Linked DNA regions of Homo sapiens: region 1 is linked to region 2. Evidence: promoter capture Hi-C in 16 types of primary human blood cells and fetal thymus (Javierre and others, 2016). All regions are on one chromosome and are shown on one strand. Each heading gives the region's core, a stretch centred on a gene start or on the middle of the fragment in contact. The rest is flanking DNA. Distances are from core to core; before and after follow the strand shown. Region 1 has its middle 42 kb from the start of ONECUT1. Region 2 holds the start of MYO5C (myosin VC).

Region 1 (2,700 bases), core at 20-2,519, 450 kb before region 2:
TTCTTTCATTTATTTTAAGCTTCGCTACTGTTCTCACTTTATGCCGTGCAATATCATCTGCTGTGTTTGCTAAGCAAAAAAGAAAAAAAAAAAAAAAAAAAAGCAAGTGATGATGCCATCATGCTTTTCAGTGTTAAAATGTTTCAGCATTTATGTAGTCACCAAAATGTAGTAAATAAAATGTTGGATTTTCCAGCACTTTAAATTTAGACAATCCTTGCCTTCTTTTGTTTTTATTCTACCTGAAATCCTAAGCAAGTAGCTCATCGAGTTTCTTTGGAGGAAGGGTGAAACGGAGAGGACAACACGCTTGAAAACAAAAGCCAGTGCCATGGTCAAAGAAAGATTAATGCAGGGAAATAAAGAGATGTTCTCTAGTGGAGCAAAATAATGCTTTTAAATGAAAGTGGAACATTCTATTTCTAGAGATTAGCCATTTATATTAACCTGATTGACTCTCAGAAGAAGTAAAAATTATTATTAGAGAGGATGGTCCTTAAAAGCCCTCTCCAGTAAAATAACTTGTGTAGGCAGTTGTGTGTGTCAGAAGCTGGGGGGCAGGGAAATTAAGGTCCTCTTTAATACAATGTAGTAACCGATCAAGAGGCCTGGCTCGGGAAACACAGTTTGGCTTTCCTGCTGTGCTGATTACTAATTGTGAGACCTTAGGCAAATTACTTAACTTCCCTCAGTCTGTTTCCTCATCTGTAAAATAGGCATAAGTATCTACATTATAGCGTGGTTGTGAGGATTAGACACTAGAAGTAGGTAAAGCTTAGCCCAGTGTCCGGCATATAAATCCTCCATAAATCTTAGCTATATTTATTATCAGCAAATTAGATAGATGATAGATAGACAGATTGATTGATTGATTTAGAGACAGGGTCTTGCCACGTTACCCAGGCTAGCGTCAAACTCCTAGGCTCAAGCGATCCTCCTGGGCTTCAGCCTTCCTAGTAGCTGGGATTACAGGCTCAGCAAATATCTTAAAATGCAGATTTTTTCCAGTTAAAAAAACTATTTTTGTCCGGGCGCGGTGGCTCACACCTGTAATCCCAGCACTTTGGGAGGCCAAGGTGGGCGGATCATGAGGTCAAGAGATCAAGACCATCCCAGCCAACATGGTGAAACCACATCTCTACTAAAAATAGAAAAAACATTAGCTGGGCGTGGTGATGCATGCCTGTAGTCCCAGCTACTCAGGAGGCTGAGGCAGCAGAACCACTTGAACCCGGGAGGTGGAGGTTGCAATGAGCCAAGATCGTGTCACTGCACTCCAGCCTGGCGACAGAGTGAGACTCCGTCTCAAAACAAAGAAGTAGACAAACAAAAAAACTATTTTCTAAGGTTTTTCATTTTTTAAATATAGGGGTAAGACTGATCTCCCTTTTTAAATTTTTATTTATTTATTTATTTATTTTGAGATAGGGTCTCCTTGTGTCACCCAGGCTGGAGTGCAGCGGCATAATCACCGCTCACTGCAACCTGGACCTCCTGGGCTAACGTGATCCTCCTGCCTCAGCCTTCCAAGTAGCTGCAAATACAGGCACATGCCACCATACCCCACTAATTTTTGTGTGTGGGGTTTTTTTGTTGGTTTGTTTGTTTTGTTTTGTTTTTGTAGAGACAGGTTCTTGCCACGTTGCCCAGGCTGTTCCTGAACTCCTGGCCTCCCAAAGAGCTGGCGTTATAAGCATGAGCCGCTGTACCCAGCCTTGGCTATTTTTAATGAAGGTGATATTAATGTTCTTCTACAAAGCTTTTTGTGGACATTTTCTAAAAAGTTTTATTCTGAAATAATTTCAAACTCACAGAAAAGTTGCAAGGATGCATAAGGAATTCTTATGTACCTATTAGCCAGATTTAACAATGCTTTATATTTTGTCACATTTGCTTTATCATTCTCTGTGTATATGTTTACATAATTATTTTCCTGGAACCTTGGGAGAATAGGTTGCATATATCATGCCCATTTATCTCTCAATACTTTCACATGTATAGTCATGAGTGGGCTTTGGGGCATACCAGTGGGATGGTGGGAGGTATGCTGAGCTCTGCCCCAAGGATGATTAATATCAATTTCAATACTATATAAACATTTTGTTCCTATATAGCTCTGTTCTCTCTTGTGATGATCAGTTTTATGTGTCAACTTGACTAGTCTCTGGTCCCCAGTTACTCATTCAAACACTAGGTGTTGCCATGAAGGTATTTTGTGGATGTGATTGCTGTTCATAATCAGCTCACTTTAAATAAAGGAGAATATCTCACACGGGTGTGCAGAGCAGTCCAGATTCTCAGGAATATATTGAAACTTTTCAAAGCCCTCAATGGGGTAAAGCAAAAAGTATCTGAGACAGGTCTTGATCAATTTAGACATTTATTTGGCCAAGTTTAAGGACTTCCCTGGAAGAAAAAAACACAGAATCACAGAAACAGTCTGTGGTCTGTGCCTTTCTCCAAAGATGAATTTGAGCACTTCAATATTTAAAGGGGCAGAGTGGACTGGAGGGGAAAGAGGGAAGGCATGGTCATCCACATGTTGCAAGGGAAAACGAGCAGTAGGGGAAGAGTCAATTATATATTCCTCTCACTCTCAGTAAATCAGCACATTATATAAGATAACGTGAACATAGAGTAGCTACCTGTGAAGATATTTGACCTTTTATCTGTAGCTATCTGCTTAGGAACAAAAGAAAA
Region 2 (2,885 bases), core at 101-2,600:
GGGGTTTCACCGTGTTAGCCAGGATGGTCTCGATCTCCTGACCTCGTGATCCGCCCGCCTCGGCCTCCCAAAGTGCTGGGATTACAGGCGTGAGCCACCGCGCCCGGCCAAGTTTTTATTTTCTCACATCCTAGGCAGTATCTGAGATTGTCTAACCTAAATGTTTTTGCCAATATGATGGGTAAAAAGCAATATCTCATTGTTGTTTTCATTTGTATTTATCTGATTACTGCTAAAGTTGACATCTCCTTGTATGCTAACAAGCCATTTAAGTGTCCCCATCTGTGAATTGCCTATTAATTTTTGTCAGTTTTAAAAATTGGATTTCTTTTCTTTAACCGATTAACAATTCTTCTATATGGAAACTACTATAACCCAACATTTTAAAGATATTATCCCTCTTTTATTCCTAATAATTTCCCGGTTTTAAGTTTTAATCGTGAATCCATCTGGAGCTTATTTTTGGATGCAGTGTTTGCCACGGATCTGCTTTTATTGTTTTTCCATATAACGGGCCCATCTAATAAATATTATTTTATTTCCCTATCTGGTCCTTAAGGCTACCGTATAATGTAGGGCCCTGCTGGGGGGCTCCAGCATGTTCCATTACTCACGTATCCGTTCTCACGCAAGTGTCACACTGTTTTAATGACTACTGCTTTGTTATGTCCCTAAATATATGGCAGGACAAATCTCTCCTCTTTGAGAATTGTCTTAGTTATACAGGGCTTTTATTCTATATGAAATATAGAATCATTGTACAATTCTCCAAAAGTTCTGTAGGATTCTGACGCCAATATATTAGGCATATATATTGATTTGGGTAGAAGTGACACCTTGACCATATTAAATATTCCCAGCCAGGAAAATGGCATGTCTCCCGTTTACCTGGGCCTTCTTTTAAGCTCTTTAAGAGAATTTTAAACATTTTCTCCACAAAGGCCAAGGGCATTTTTGCGAGTGTAATCTCTGGATACTTTATATTTTCACTAATATTGTAAATATCTTGTATTGCATAGACAATGCTCATATAAAGGACCATTACTTATTTTTGTATTTGATTTTGAATACGATGACCTTGCTGGACTCTTAACACATTTCTTTGTGTTCAGTACGTTGATTCCCTTGGGTCTTCCATTTAAATGGTCGTATCCTCTGCTCTTTGAGGAGCTAACACTCGGGCCGGGCAGCCTCCGGATGCATCTGTTCCTGCCTGGCAGCGCGCCCCGGGCCCCAACCTTCTCCACCCGCGCTCCCGCCAGGTGCAGCCGCCCGGCCCCGGCCAATGGCAGCGCCGACTAGCCGGGCCAAGCTTGGAGGGACCAATCCCGCCGCTGCCCCCTCCCCTCGCCGCCAACTCGGGAACGGGAACAGGAGGCCGTTGGAAAACTTTGGGCAAGATGGCCCGGCGGTGATTTCCGCGGCGGTCTCTCCTGCGCCCGGCCTCTGCGGCGCAGGCCCAGCCCCCGAGCCTCGCACGTTCGGCAGCCCCGGCCTGGCCCCGGCCCCTCCTGCCCATGGCGGTGGCCGAGCTGTACACGCAGGTAGGAGGGTCCGCTGGGCTCCTGGGAGCGCTGTGGGGGAGCCGGCCCTGCTAACGCTGACTCGACCTGGCGCCCGGGCCACACCTGCCACACCTGCGCACCTGACACGGCAGGGCGGGCGGGCGCGCGCTGGGGGCCGCGGAGGCGCCGCGGAGGGGCCACGGGGACCGGGGACACGAGCGAGCGTCGCCCCTCCAGGGCCCCGGCGTGCTCCGTCCCTGCCCGCGGGTAAGCCCCCTCCTGGCTCCGCTGCGCCTGGGTGCCCTGTGGGTGGGAAGACCCTGTGGGAGGGGCCGCCCCCTCCGCCGCTCCGGCCTCGGGGCCTAGAATCCCCAGTGCCCAGGGGTCGCGCGTGCGTCCCCATCTCCCGGGACTGGAGCGCCTCGGTCCCTTCCTACCACACCACGGGTGGAATCAGAGTTGCCCATGCGGACGTAGGAAGCTGAGACGCCGGCCAGTCTCCTGGCCCCTCCTGGGACCCCCTTGAACGAGCTGGCATAGAAGCTTATGGCCGCAGTGTTCGGGCTGCTTTCTAGAATTCTGTGTCTTCAAAGTGCGTGAACGTGCATGTAGGCTCATCAGAAGCTGAAGCAGCCTGGGTCACAGGCTTGAGGGCACTGCAGTGGCACCAAGCGCTTGGGGAGCCCAGGGGCCACGAGGTGCAGTCGTAGGCTCTTTGCCTAACATCTGTACTGTTAGCAACAGTACAAACACCACAGTTTCTAAAGCGCCTTTCATATACCCTGACTCTGGGAAACACTAGAGCATTCCTCAGAAGCTTCCTTTCTGCTGGCTGGGGCTCCACCTCTTACCTCGGAAGGGCAGCGTTCCCACATATGTCCCAAACCCTCTGAGATGGGCTTGGGTAATTATTTGGATAAAGAGTGTGACAGTGTTAGCACTTTTGAAAAAAAAAATCCATTTGAATAGCCATAAAGCCTGATCCTCCTATACACCAGTTGGGGAAATCTAGAGACCTCAGTATTCAGACGAGTGGAACTAGAATCCATCCATTTCCCCGGACACATGCTCTAGCTTTCTACTTTAAAAGATGCTTTTGCTGTAGATAGAAAAGATAGTTATTTAAAAAATCATGTTTCAATGGTTTAAGCAAACGTTTTTCTTCTACTTTGATTACTTAGTAACAGTCCGGACACAAAGCAACCGAACTGTAGTTTCTCCTCTATTGCATCTCCATTAACTGGAGTTCTAAATGGACAGTGTTTGAATTGCCCTAGTTTTGTTCTAGAATATTTTCACCAGTGAGACTGTGAGCCCTCAGACAGCCAACAGCGCTTCTTCAGCCTTCAGTTTACTGGAAGTGAAAGAAAAGTCTTGGAC

The links. Contacts are between HindIII fragments. The CHiCAGO score rates a contact against its expected background, and 5 or more counts as called.
Region 1: a contact is called between a fragment that was not itself captured here and the fragment with the promoter of MYO5C in region 2, in 1 of 17 cell types (naive CD4 T cells). The highest score is 5.8, in naive CD4 T cells.

Annotation. Positions count from the first base shown.
Region 1 is chr15:52,747,408-52,750,107 of GRCh38, reverse strand. No RefSeq gene overlaps it. Among named protein-coding and RNA genes, the nearest start is that of ONECUT1, 42 kb to the left of the region's middle. The HindIII fragment of the contact is 985 bases long and covers 777-1,761 here.
Region 2 is chr15:52,294,269-52,297,153 of GRCh38, reverse strand. MYO5C (myosin VC) reads left to right here and starts at 1,350. Exons shown (of 41, transcript NM_018728.4): 1 at 1,350-1,544. The coding sequence starts at 1,518. It overlaps LOC105370819 (a long non-coding RNA gene), which reads right to left and starts at 2,270. Exons shown (of 4, transcript XR_932250.3): 1 at 1,943-2,270. RefSeq lists a silencer at 1,527-1,686. The HindIII fragment of the contact is 736 bases long and covers 1,315-2,050 here.